Linked DNA regions of Homo sapiens: region 2 is linked to region 1. Evidence: promoter capture Hi-C in human tissues and cell types (Jung and others, 2019). All regions are on one chromosome and are shown on one strand. The core of a region is centred on a gene start or on the middle of the fragment in contact, and the rest is flanking DNA. Distances in the headings are between cores, read along the strand shown.

Region 1 (6,741 bases), core at 888-3,387:
TAGTCAAAGTGAAGTCAAACACATTACTACTCACGGCTACATCTTCTTCTGGCAATGACTTCCGCTCCTTTTTCTTCTTATGTTTCTTTGGCAAAATAATTACTAAAAAAACAAACACAGGATTTGGGAATTTTCCCCAAGAATAAATGAAACAAGGGTTTAAAATAAAGACCGAAATTAGGGCAGGTAGGAAATGGATTTTAGGTCTACAATTACAGTCACATGCCACATAATGTTTTGCAAGTACAGACTGCGTATGTGATGGTGGCCCCCATAAGATTATAACAGAGCTGAAAAATTCCTATCTCCTAGTGATGTCTTGATGATCCTGACCCTGTGTAGGTCAAGGCTACTGTGTGTGCTGTGTTTGTGTCTTAGTTAACAAAAAAAAATTTTTTAAGAAAAAAATTAAAAAATTTTAAAATAGAAAACTTATAAATAAGGAGATAAGCAGAGAAAATATTTACGTACAGCTAAATAATGTGTTTGTTTTAAGCTAAGTATTATTACAACAGTCGAAGTAAAAAGTTTATAAAGTTACAGTAAGCTAAGGTTGATTTATTCTGAAGAAAAATATATTTTTATAAATTTAGTGTAGCCTAGGTGTACAGATTATAAAGTCTCCAGTAGTGTAATGTCTGAGGCCTTCACATTCAGTCACCGACTCAACCAGGGCAACTTCCAGCTCAGCAAGCTCCATTCATGGTAAGTGCCCTCCTCTACGGGTGCACCACTTATAACCTTGTGTACTATATATATATAATATACATACATATAATACATACATATATAATATACATATATACACACACATATTTATATATATATATAATTTTTTTTTTTTGAGACGGTCACACTCTTTCCCCAGGCTGGAGTGCAGTGGCAGAAACTCGGCTCACTGCAACCTCCTTCTCCAGGTTCAAGCAATTCTCCTGCCTCAGCCTCCCGAGTAGCTGGGATTACAGGCGTATACCACCACGCCCACCTAAATTTTTTGTATTTTTAGTAGAGACGGGGTTTCACCATGTTGGCCAGGCTGGTCTTGAACTCCTGACCGCAGGTGATCCGCCAGCCTGGGCTGGGATCACAGGCCTGAGCCACCGCGCCCGGCCCTGTGCTATATTTTTACTGTCCTTTTTCTGCTTAGACATGTTTAAGTACACAAACTCTCGACGCTGTGTCCCAACTGCCTACAGCATTCCGCACAATACCATGCTGTCCAGGTTTGAAGCCTAGGAGCCATACGCTACACCATATACAGCCTAGGTGTGTAGTAGCCTATGCCACCTAGGTTTGTGTAAGAGCCCTCTGATGTTCACACAATGATGAAATCGCCTAACGACCCATTTCTTAGAACGTATATCCGTAGGTAAGCGAGAAAACAAGGTGTGTAAGGCCAAATGTATGGGTCCCATGGCTGGGTAACTGACTGTAGGCTACTGCACGTGTCGGCTTCCCTTCCGGTTCACCACGTGGCTATGGCAGAGCTTAAACATCCCACAGAAGCGCTCACGCAGGGGGCCGGAAAGTTCCATAAGCGACCACTCGACTGTCCCCGCGGGCTTGTGGCCTCTAGAACTTTCTTGCAACTCGGAGCTCTATCCCTGCTCCGGGGTCCCTCCGCTCCTTTTCTTCTCGGCCCGTTTCCACTACCCTTGCTCCCCTAGTCGCATGGAGCTGTAACGGCGGCGTCCGGGCTGGCAGCAGCACAGACACTGCCACGTCCCACGCCACCGCGGGGTGGGCAGCACGGCAGATGTCTTTCGACGGCGACCCGGACCCCAGGGAGGTGAGAGGGCCGAGCCCCATCATGCCAAGTCACCGCGAGGGGCTCCCACTCTCGCGCCCTTGCCACGGAGCCAGGGCCGAGAGACAAGGCCGGCTTAAGGCCGGGCGGTGAAGAGGCCGACACGCCGGCGGGAACCAGAGGGAGGCGTGCGCGGGCCCCGATACCATCCCCCCACCCCCGTTCCCCGAGTCGCCCGGAGTTAGCACGGCCCGGAAGCCTGCAGCCCTTACCTTCCGCATCCGCCATGTTACCCTGCACCGCGTGCGTGCCGCCCGGTCCACAGCCGAGGGAACGACCGCAGACTCCCGCCGCCTTGGTCCCGTCAGGCCGCGCTGCTAGGACCCACCCACCCGCGCACTGCCCTGTGCGTGCCTTGCCGCGGGGCGGGAGGAGGCGGGGCCATCCCGGGGGCGGAATCCGAGGCGCCCGCTGGTCGTCTGCGCAATGCGATTTGCTGGCTCGGCCAGTACGGAGGGCGAGACCGCGCATGCGCTTCGAGCCTCAAGCAGCCTGGTTGGCCCAGGCTGGAAGCGCGAGTGCCGCCCGCCCCGACAGCCCGGAGTCTGTGGGCGTGGCCCCAGCTGTAGTTGCTTCACCTCCGGGTTTAGCTCCGCGCCTGCGCCTGGGCTCACGGCTGAACGCTCCGTAAACAGTACCTCTTTCTTTGCTTTCTCACACCGACCCTTTCAGGTTGCTGTTGGATCAGTCCTGATGCATAAGTGAACATGTTGAAGCTCGGAGAGGTTGAAAGGCCTTTGCTGCTTGCAGTTCCCATCCAGCTAGAGCAGATGGCCAATAGGAGTAGTGTGCGTGCCACATGTTGACTTTTAAATTTTCCAGCAGCAACATGAAAGAAGAGTAAAAAGAAAAAGGTGAAAATGATTTATAATGAATTTTTTTAACCCAGCGTATCCGAAATATTATCATTTCCACATATAGGCAAAACACAACAGTATGAATGGGGTATTTTACATTGGTTTTTTTTTTTTGTCCCCGCAAAGACTTTCCGGTGTGTGCGTTTATGCTCACAGCACACCTCAATTTGAACTCTACGACCGGGCTTCACGCCAAACAGCAGAGACAAAGCACTGGCACTAAATCTCATAGAAACAGGATGAGCCTGGGTATCATGATAGGCAGCAGGGCTGGAAGCTGGAACCAAACTGATTTCTCCCCAGGGATCTTTGGTGGTGTCTAATTGATCACAGTGTCCTGTAGTAAGCCATCATGATCTGTATAACCCCGGTAACTCTAGGTCTGGCTAAAGGCATTCTGCCTTGAATCACCACAATGGAAAATCATGGTGCCTCATCTAATTCCCAGATCTAGTCAGTCCACAGGCCAGAGCCCGTGAGGTGAGCCTGTAAAGGTGAGGCCAGGCACATGTAACGCTACAAGTGTGTACTTTCAGCCTGCCTCCTCCCTTCTCGTGGGACCCGTGGCCATTTACCAGGGGCTTGCACTAGCCCGTGTGAATCACTGGGGAAGTAGAATGCCACTTGGTCCAATGGTCAGAAGTGGAGTCAGCCCACGTCCCTTTCACTATCAGCCACCCTGTGGCTCTTTCCCCGGTTCTTGAATCCATACTTGTAATAAACACAATTGGTAGCTGGATAAATTCCCAGAGGGGCTTCCTGACTCAAGGACTGAGGGTGATAATGGAAGGAAAGAACAAAGGAAGCCTCTGGCACATTATCATAATTGAGTCCCTGGGAACTGATTTGATCATCTCACTGTACCCCAAGACATCATGCTGAGTGGACCTGATGCATAGGAAGTGGCAAATATTTCACCACAAGGTGAGAGAGAAGCCCCTTGAAAATTCAGGGAGGTGATACCTCAGTGAACTTCCTGGGCATGCAGTGGGCTGAGGCATGTTGAGACGGTCCCTCCAAAGAGAAAGACAAGTTGCCTTACTTGGAACCCTCTGCTTGCTAAAAAAGAAGCATGACACTCAGTGGGCCATTTTCTGGAGATGGCATACCCCATTAGGATGCTACACAGAGCCTTTTCCAAGCTTTAATAAGAGACTCACAGTTCAGCCCTCTGGAATTTGAAATAAACTTAAAGCTAAGACCTCCACACACAAAAAATAATAATTTGCCAGGAGGAAAAGCTCCTGGCTTGCTGTAATTATTTACTGAAACGGAATGACTGTGATACATGTGGTCTTAAGACCTGACCTGCCCATGATAAACTGGGTGTTGTCTGACCAAACCATGAGTACCATCAAGTACAATGATGCAGCCACTTTAGAAAATGGTCTGGCAATTCCTTGAAAGGTTAAACACAGAGTTACCATATGACTCACCAATTCTACTCCTAGGTATAGACCCAAGAGAATCGAAAATGGATTTTTAGATAGATGGTTGTACACATATGTTCATAGAAGAACTGTTCACAATAGCCAAAAGGTAGAAACAACCAAAATGAACAGATGAATAGATAAACAAAATGTGGTCTATTCATACAATGGAGCCGTAAAAAGGGATGAAGTACTGATCCATGCTACAACATGGATACAACATTGAAAGCATTATGCTGAGTGAAAGAAGCCATTCACCAAAGGCCACATTTTGTGTGATTCCATTTATAGGAAATATCCAGACTAGGCAAATCTAGAGACAAAAAGCAGATTAGTGGTAGCCTTGGCCTAGGAATTTAGGGGAACATGGGGAATGACTGCTAATGGGCACAGAGTTTCTTTTTGAGGTGATAAAAAAAGGTTCTAAAATTACATTTTGGTGATGGTTGCACAGGATTTCAAGAATTGTGGGATAGGATGGCCACTCATGATGGTTTGGGATCATCTAAATGACAGCCAAATTCCTCGAATTTTTGGTTTGGGTCACAGAGGGAATTTCTATAACAATGCTTAAGGAATTACTTATCTTTTACAGGCACAAGAATAAAACAACTAAAAACCAAACTTTAAAATTTTGACCCATCACCTTTCCAAATTACAAAACTCAGTGAGTTCGCAGCCTTCTCAGTTCTCTTAGTAAAGGTTGGGGCCACGATCAGAAAAGCATAGAACACTGGGATTTGAAATGGGAGTAAATTGGAGAATTGGGAGTCCCCAGAATCCCCAACTCTTACTGAGCCTCCATTGTTAAACAACCCCCACGTTTATCTGATTGCAGGTTCCCTTACTGTCTCATGAGGGAATTAGCAGGGAAGCAAAGGCACTTCCCTCCTACTCTCCCACCCCAATGTCTCCAGGCCTGTAACTAGAGTTAACCTCTACATTGCCTCAACTGAACAATTTAAGTCATGCAGCAGGAGAAAGCTTGCATATGAAAACAGTAGTAGGAGTTTGCAAACATGTACCAGGAAACAGGTAATATTTATGTAAATGATATGTGAAGGTTCTTGACCCAAAAAGAGAGAAGATCATTTTAAATCAGGCTGATTTCTTGGTATAGACGCTGGAATAGAGGTTCATGTGGAGGTGATGCCTGGACCAAGAAGCCTATCCCAGAGCTTTAACTGCAATGGACGATAGAGTTCAGGTGAGAGTGTACAAGGATTGAAGGAGGTGTTTTGCTAATAAATGCTGTAAGCTACTAGATTCCCATCCCAGATTATTTTTCACCACATTGTTTTCACCACATCTAGCCAGGTAACCAAAACAAAATTCTTGCATTTGTCTGAATGCAAGACTCATGGAAGACTTTGCTTCTAGTACCAAATCTTGTGCCACTTAGAAATGTTTTGTTTGGAAGTACAAGAAACAGACTGTTATTATTGGAAGGGTATTATAGACTGTGGGACTCAATAAAGAACAGGTTTAAAGAGTGGGGTGAGTGAACATTAAGGGTAGGCCTCAAAATTGTTTATGTCTCATCTCTCACCTTCACAGCACCACACCACACCAAGTTATACCATTAAATAAGACTTTAGTGGATGTTGGCAGAGGTAAAAACTGAAAATCACATTTAAAGAAAGGCATGTGAAACAATAGCTCTAAATATCTTTTTGTACTCTAAGAGAAAAGCCCCTAACAATGCCCTGCATGGATGCTCTTTAGTTCCCAGCCTGCTCTCCTGCCCTCAGGTCCTGTAGGGTTATACTGCTTCTAAAACGTTTCACTAGGTCATGTGTGGTAAGCACTGTTAGTTGGCTGCCTAACAGACATCCCTTTCCTCTTCTTTCTCCATAACAGAGCCCCAGTTTTGGCCAGGACAGCACTGTGCCCAGCAGCAGGGCAAGCATCACAGTCGCTCTAAGCCAGTCAGATCCTTTGTCACATCATTTACTGGCCTCTCTTGCAGTTAGGGTGGCCATGCGGCACAATTCTGGGCAACGAGTTGTAACTGGAAGTCAGCTGGAGAGGGGAGGATTGGGTAATGGCAATGAGGAGCCAGAAGTGGCCAAGTGGCTCTGTTTGCAAGTTAGTGGAGCGATTCTCATAAGTGGAAGCATGTTTTTCTTGGGTACTAGAATCTAAACCAGCCAGGTACAAAGTCATGAGGTTGAGAAGCAAAAATTCTGAAGGCAGATTATTCAGCATGTCTGTGAGATATGCCATTCCCCACCTCAACTCTGTTTTCCAGACCTCTTATATTCTGACCATGAGAAAAACTGCACCATTTAATGGTTTCTAGTTCAGCGTATGGTCCAGATCCTCACAAGAGTGTTGTGTCCCAACTAGGAACACAGCAGAATCTTCAACAGGCCATTTTATCATTGGCCAGATCAACGGCTGCCTACAGAATGTTGGAAGAGGTATGGAATTGTTTTAGCAAATAGATCACACCTGTAACCGTAGCAGCACTTGAAATAACCACCTGATTATGCTTTCAGTAATCCACAGTCGTTTAATGTCCACAGTTTAGGTTTCTACTGCTGCATAACAAACCATCCCCAAACTTAGTGCCATTAAACAGCCATTTCATTGTGCTGACAGGTTCTTCAGGTGAGAAATCAAGACAGGACACAGTGAGAATGGT
Region 2 (7,484 bases), core at 3,991-6,490, 280 kb before region 1:
CGCTTGGTTGAGGCAACAGTGAGCCATGACTGTGCCACTGCACTCCAGCCTGGGCAACAGAGTGAGACCTCTCTTACAAAATTTTTTTTTACTCACTGTGGTGAGTCACTGTGCCCAGCCATGCATTATTTTTATAAACATTTGAATAATAAAGTTTTCATGAAATAAAAAATGTAACTTTCCTAACTTTGAGGAGAGACAGAAGGAAGAAAGGAAAGAGAAACTATCTGGGCTCTGGGCTCCTGTAGATACCCATCTCTGCCACCTTCCCACTCTGGGTAAAGGCACCAGCTTTGACCAGCCACTTGCCAATCACCAGCACGAAGAGCCACTCACAACATGAGAAGCCTGAGGCGCACACAGGGTATTTCTCCTCCCCTGCACTCAATCTGTCTGTTTTCCCTGTGAGGCTAGAGTGAGCTAATGGGAGAATCTCTCATCACTCCAGGCTACAGAAAGTACCAGCTATCTTCTTGACACCCTGATCCTTGTTTATTTCTCCCCAGTTCAGTGTACTTATTTATTTGCAACATCTGACATATTTCTAAAGGTAATAAAGCAGCAGCAAAAAATATCCTTTTAAAAAGGAAGGACTTCTCCTGTCCCTGCAGTGCCAGGTCATAATCTAACTTGGCTTTAATGAACAAGATCAGGGGTTAGCAAACTACAGCCCATGGGCCAAATCCAATCTGAACCTGTTTTTAAATAAAGTTTTATTGCAACACAGCCACATCCACTTATTTAACATATCATCTATGGCTATTTTGATGATATACAGTGGAGTTGAATACTTGTGACATTTCCACTAGTTATATGCAGAACAAGCAGAGTATGAATGTTTCAGAGATATGCGTGTATAGCGACAAAATGGGACTCAAAATAATTATACTGGCCATATATCCTTCCCACCTACTATGCTGCCCCACATTCCTACAAGAACTGGTTAAAGGGATAATCACTCCACAAATGTGCACAGACAAAGGTCACCAAACAATTATCCAGCTTTTAAAAATGTTCTGAAGTGATGATAATCCAAGTTAGTTTTGTCTCATTACTCTAAGTTCTTTGTAATGCTTAAGCCCTGTCCATCACTGAGATATGGTACAATAGGGTTAAGCCCTGTTTTTGTCTGCACTGTTCACACACTACACGTGAACAATGCAAGTCTCACCTCCTCAGCTTTGCTCCTGACCTCAGTAGGTATCTGATTGCTCTTACGGATCTTCAGCTGCTCTTTGGCTTTCTTCATGTCCTTCTCCACTCGTTGCCAGTCAACTTTGATGTACCCAGTATGGTTTGCAAGCTACAGTATCAACAATAATGACAACAAGAAATGAGAAACAGATTTGTTATTTCTTTTAGTCAGGATAAATCCTGAAGTAGACTCTCGAAACCCTCTGACTTTCCATTTTTGGAGACATCTGCCATTTGATTCTTTGTATCATGATGACATCTACTCAGCATCCCCCCTATATGCGAAGCCATATGCCTGGCACTAGAAATAACTACTGGCAATTCTTTTAAATTATTTATACTCTTACAACCCTTTTACAAAGAGTTACATAAGATGAAAATCAAGGTGGGGGGTCAAGATGTAGGGTGAAGAGATGGACCTTACAGCCAATACAAATGTTTCCAGAGAATGACTCTGACAATGTGCCCATGAGTGTCAGTTTCCTGACAATGTGAACAGAGCAAAGCATTCAGGCAGTTATTACTGTTGCTTAACAGGAAGAAATCTAGCATCTGGCCCCACAGAGATTTCTCATGAGCAAGTTCATATAAACGGATATTAAGAGAACCACATCCAAAGACACCTACAGCATATACCTATTTCCCTTGATAAAAACAGCAGGCACAAACACTAAAACTCAGTGTAAATCTGATTCAAGCATGTAGATTTTGATGATGGATTAATATCATCCTAGGAATGAAGAGAATGACTGTAGCCAATCAATCAATGCCCTATCAATATCACTTCTCTCTACCAAATTTTTGGCAATCTCAAAATATCTGAAACTAAAAGTCTTCACCTTGCTAGAGTCTCCTCCTGCATTGTTGCTCTTCCTCTAGGCCCTATTTTAGCTAATGGCACCACCAGTCACCCAAACAGACTAGAGAAAATACTTGTGATGTGTATCATAAACAAAACATTGATACTCAAAAAAGTGAACTTCTTATAGAGATCAGTAAGAAAGTTCACTTTAAAAATGGGTAAGGGCAATTCAGAGGAAAGTGTCCACAAAAAGGAAAAAGTTCAACTTCACAAGTAATCAAGCCATAGTACCTTTATTTATGAGTCTATAACTGGAAATACACAAAAGTCTATCAACACATGAATGGATAAACAAATTGTATCATATTTACACAATAGAATATTACTTAGTACTAAAAAGAACAAATTACTTACAGCAACCACATAGTTGAGTATCAACATTTGTATCTAAAAGAAGGCTCTGGTTCATTTACTCCACCCTGTTTATCCCACAAAATCCTGCTATTAAACTGAGAGAATACATGGACTAGCTATTTGAAGGCTCTTACATAAAAACAGCGACGTGCAGATTGGAGAAGACCAGAATTCAAAGCACCACCAAACTGGTGGCGTGTTTCCTGCTTTTCCTGCAGTATCGCCTGGCCTAACCTCAAGGCAGGACTCAAGAAACATCTGACAAAATTCAACGCAAATTCATGATAAAACTCTCAGAGAAAGAGCAATAGAGGGGAACTTCCTCAACTTGATAAAGAACATCTACATAAAAAACCCTGCAGCTAACACTGTACAGAATGGTGAAAGAACGAATGCAGGGAACAAGGCAAAGCTGTCCGCCGTCTCCACTCCTATTAAATATCGTACCAGAAGTGAATTCAGAGTCAGCACAACAAGGCAAGAAAAAGAATTAGGAGGCATCCTGATTCACAAGGAAGAGGTCAAACTGTCTCCAATCATAGACATCTTTGTCTACATAGAAAATTTCATAGACTTCAACAAAAAACAAAAACTCCTAGACTAAAAAAGTGAGTTTAGCAGGGTCACAGGACACAAATTCACACAAAACCAACTGAATTTCTATATGCTAGCAATTTGAACTGGAAATGAAAAATGTTTAAATGATTTACAACAATGGGTGCAAAAAATAATTAAATATTAGGTACAAATCAAATAAAACATACAGGATCTGTATACTGAGAACTACAAAATGCTGAAGAAAGAACTCAAAGACAACCTAAATAAATGGAGAGACACATCATGTACATGGAATGGAATACTCAACACAGAAATGATGCCCAGTTCTCTCCAAATTATCCATAGATTTACTGCAATCCCAAATCACAAATCCCAGTAGGATTTCTTATAGATACATAAATAAGCCGGTTCTAAGATTTATATGGAAAGGCAAAGGAACTGGAATCACCAAAATGAATCTGAAAAAGAACAGAGTTGGGGAAATCACACTACCTGATTTAAGATTTACTATAATGCTACAGTAGTCAAGACAGTGTGTCATACTGAAGAAGAGATAGACACACAGACCAACAGAACAGAATAAAAAGTACAGAAACGGACGTGGACAACTACAACAAACTGATTTTTCACAAGGGGGCAAAAGTAGTAATGGTGGTGGTGAAGTCCCCTGGGTGGCCCAGGCCAGGATTGCGAGGTGACTTCCTGCTCTCCTTGGCATTACTGGGGGACTGCACTGCAGGGGCAAAGCAACACCAGAACTGGGAAAAGCAGCCTCTCCCGCTGCAAGGTCCCTCCAGCGCCCTCTACTGACAAAGCTCAACATCCTACTTCCATTGCAGCACAACAAGTAGAGGGAGCCGAATAAACTGAAAACTGGCAAGCGTTGCTGCTGGGCTCTGAAAGCTGCAAAAAGTGCTGGAAATGATCTACAGCTTGGTAAGAAAAAGCAACTACATTCATAAAGACGTGAAGGAAAAATTTCACTGTTCACAGATGGCATAAAAAGATTTTATAGACAAAACCCAAAAGAATCCCAGACAAGACTTTTTTAACAAGGTGGCTGGCTGAAAGAGCAACATAAAATATCAACTGTATTTCAACACACTAGCATGAATCAGAATGTGTAGTTTTAAAAATCGTATCATCCACAAGAGCAACTAAAGTTATAAGGTATCCAGGAATAAAACTGAATCACAGATGTACAAGATCTATACGGAAAAATAATAAAAAGTCTATTCAAAGGCATTAAAGAAGACCTAAATAATTGGAGAGAAAGCCCGTGTTCACAGATAGAATACTCAATATCATAAGAGATATCTACATGGTTCCAATGCAATTCCGATAAAAATTTCAACAGGATTTTTGAAAATAACTGACAAGTCTGATCTAAAATTTAGATGAATGAGCAGAAACACAAAAGTAGCTGCAACACTCCTGAAGAATAAGGTGGAGGAATTTGCATTACCAAATATTAAGCTTTAGTACTGTCATAAAGATCGAAAGTTGACCAGTGGAACAGAACACAGAAACCAGAGTCACAGCCACACATACATGGGTTCTGATATATGAAAGAGACAATGCTGCAAATGTTGGGAAAGGGAAGAATTATTCACTAAATTCTGCTCAATTATCAGTATGGAAAAAAGGAAACTGGATCCCTATGTCAAACTATAACTTGTGATATAACTGATCTCCCAACATTATGCTTGCCTCCTGCTCTCACTCCCCTGGTGACAGATAACATGAGTGCCTGCCACAGATTCTCCATGTCTCACCTCTGCAGCAAAGCAGTGTCCCTGTACCCCTTGAATATTGGAATTATCCAACCCCAAAATCTCATTTTGAGGTGCCTTTCTGGAGACATTTTCAATACCAATTATTTCTGTCAGGGCCCCAAAACGAAACAGAGGACACACTCAAATTAAGACATTTCAAAGCAATATTAAAATGTTTATGAAGTTTGGGGCAGCATATAAGGGAAACCACAGGGATAGAGATGTTACTGCACTTCCACCTGAAGGGTCAAGGGGAAGGAGAGAGAGGTGTGAGGAGGGGCCCCACCTTGCAGGGAGTCTGACCTGTCTAGCAACAGAGCCAGCACGTAACAAGCCCACAGGGAAGCAGCCAACAAAAGTGAGGCTTGGGCAACAAAGGAGATGCAACTTGCACCATGTTTCTGCAGAACTGTGCTTGGGAGTCCTGAGGTCATGGTAGTGTGAGGAAGCCTATACTGGCACAGGGACCACATGGAAGAGCACTGAGACTATGGACAGGGGGGAAATAAGGAGAGGAGGAGGGAAGACAAACAGAGACAGAGACACAAAGAGGCCCCACAAGTCCAGACCTACCCTAACCCTCTGATCATCTGGCCTGTAACCACATGAGACTCTGATCCACAAGCACCTACCTTAACCCTCCCCAAACTCCTGTAACCATGAGAGAGAATAAAGTGATCATTATTTGAAGCCATTAGGTTTGGGGGAATTTGTCATGCAGCAATACCACACTCAACCCAGCTACAGCCAGTTACCAGCTTCCCTCTTCGATACATTTGATTTTCACCTGACCTATCTGCAAAACTCACTCCAATCATGGTGCTAATGCAGAACTTACCTTGCAAAAGTGAGGGTTGCCAACTGTGGGAAGAGACAAACGGCTGTGAATTCAGAGACTCTGGCATGATTCAGCAAGTTATGGCTCCCACAGCACAGCAGAATCACCTCAGGAGTTTTAAGTTTTCCAATGAAATCAGACTGTGGGTCAGGAGTGGCACACGTTGGCTCTTTTAAAAACTCCTAGGTGATTCCAATGTGGAGCCAAATTTGAATACCAATGCCACAGAGCTAAGAAATGTATGCCTAATACAATCAAATGTCAGTTTTCTTTTGTTTTTGGAGAAACTGCTCCCTTTTTCAAGTCTTGCTTGTTAGTCTCTCCTAAGCAGTCTCAGAGAACTGGCAACCACTGGTTCTGAAACTATGGGTCAAGGAGACAGCAGACGACATCTGACTGTACTGTCACTTAGCTCCCATTTCTCATCACATGCTCAACATCCCCTCTGTGAAAGCTAGCTATAATATTAGCATATGACACTAAATCATCACAGCACACTTGTATTTTTGAAATCACATCCGCTTAATAATTCAGCTGGTCTTAAAAACTCTTTTAAGGGAGCTATGATAAGGAATTTGCACTTCTGTCGCCACATGAGGAAATAAAATGGGACTGGCAAATAACATTTACTAGTATAATGAATAAAATTTGACTCAAACGGTCACTAGCATTTAAAATAGTACATGAAAACAAGTGCTAAGGCTAGTCTAGTGTGACATAGCCAGGACTGTATTACAACTCCCCACACCACATTCCTTAATGGGCAGGTGGAATTTCCAAACATCTGAGAACATTTCACATACAGACCTGAAGGAGAAAAAATCCACCTCCCACAGCTGTTGCAGCCAACTTTCCAACCTTCTGGAATATGAAACCTGTGCACCTACAAAAACAAACCAACATCAGACAAATTGATGAGCTGTCAGTTACATACAAACATGCATTTCTGGCAATGTTCATATCTTACTTAGCTTAAGATGACCTAGCTCCTTCCTACCCCCTACATAAAGCCAGCCCCAAGAGGAGCATGACATAAGGAAATCAAATCTTGGCTCTATGAATCTTGTGGTCTTGAGTAAGTCCCTTAAAACTCTCAGGTTATATTTTTAAAAGATGACTCTGGCTACATTGTGGAGAAGAGATTAAAGGGGGAGGACGAAGGCAGAGACTCTAGTTAAGACGGTGAGGTAGCGATCCAGAAGAGAAGTGAATGCCAATGGGCCGAGGTAGAGATGGCAAGGAGGGAGCAGACCTGAGGAACTGTTTGTGAAGAAAAAAAAAAACACTCCTGAGTTTGAGGACAGGATGGTTGCAAGGGATAAGGCACAAGATTCTGTCCTGAATGTGGCATTTTTTACAATATAAAAACAAGGAAGAGGAATAGAGGAAAAGGTGGGGGAAGGGAGGGGAGGAGATAATGTCATTTTGAATATGTTGAATGCAAAATGTCCATATGATATCTGAGTGGCAACATCTTGTAGCCAGTTTAATATAATTATGTGTTTCTTTATTACTGTCTATCTTCCTGCCCCCACCCGATACTAAAATGTAAGCTTCATGAAGGCAGAGATTTTGTTGTTTCATTGCTGAACACCTATCAGCTGTAATCATTAACCATTGTTGAAAAAATCCTCCCTAGACTCCAATTCTCCAGCCCCCTTCCCTTTTCTGTGCTCTCCTTTACAGCAAAACTACTTTGAGGCCGTCTCTTTTGTCCTGTGTCCATATTCTCTCACACCTACACCATTCAGGCTTTTGTCCCATGACTTCAATGAAACCATTCCTATCAAGGTTACCACTGATCTTGACCTTACCAAATGCTAGTGTTCACTTCTCAGCTTTAATCTCATCTGACCTACAGCAGCTTTTGACACAGTTGATTACTCTCTCCTTTTTTTAAAAA

The links. Contacts are between HindIII fragments. The study calls those that stand out against the background at their distance.
Region 2: a fragment that was not itself captured here is called in contact with the fragment with the promoter of DKC1 in region 1 in 1 of the 25 tissues and cell types used here (lymphoblastoid cells).

Annotation. Positions count from the first base shown.
Region 1 is chrX:154,758,260-154,765,000 of GRCh38, reverse strand. DKC1 (dyskerin pseudouridine synthase 1) reads right to left here and starts at 2,137. Exons shown (of 15, transcript NM_001363.5): 1 at 2,020-2,137; 2 at 35-102. The coding sequence starts at 2,035. RefSeq lists enhancers at 1,607-1,706, 2,457-2,516 and a silencer at 2,057-2,356. The HindIII fragment of the contact is 8,972 bases long and covers 1-4,442 here.
Region 2 is chrX:155,045,489-155,052,972 of GRCh38, reverse strand. It overlaps FUNDC2 (FUN14 domain containing 2), which reads right to left. Exons shown (of 5, transcript NM_023934.4): 3 at 6,389-6,464; 4 at 1,172-1,303. Among named protein-coding and RNA genes, the nearest start is that of CMC4, 22 kb to the left of the region's middle. The HindIII fragment of the contact is 7,075 bases long and covers 1,703-7,484 here.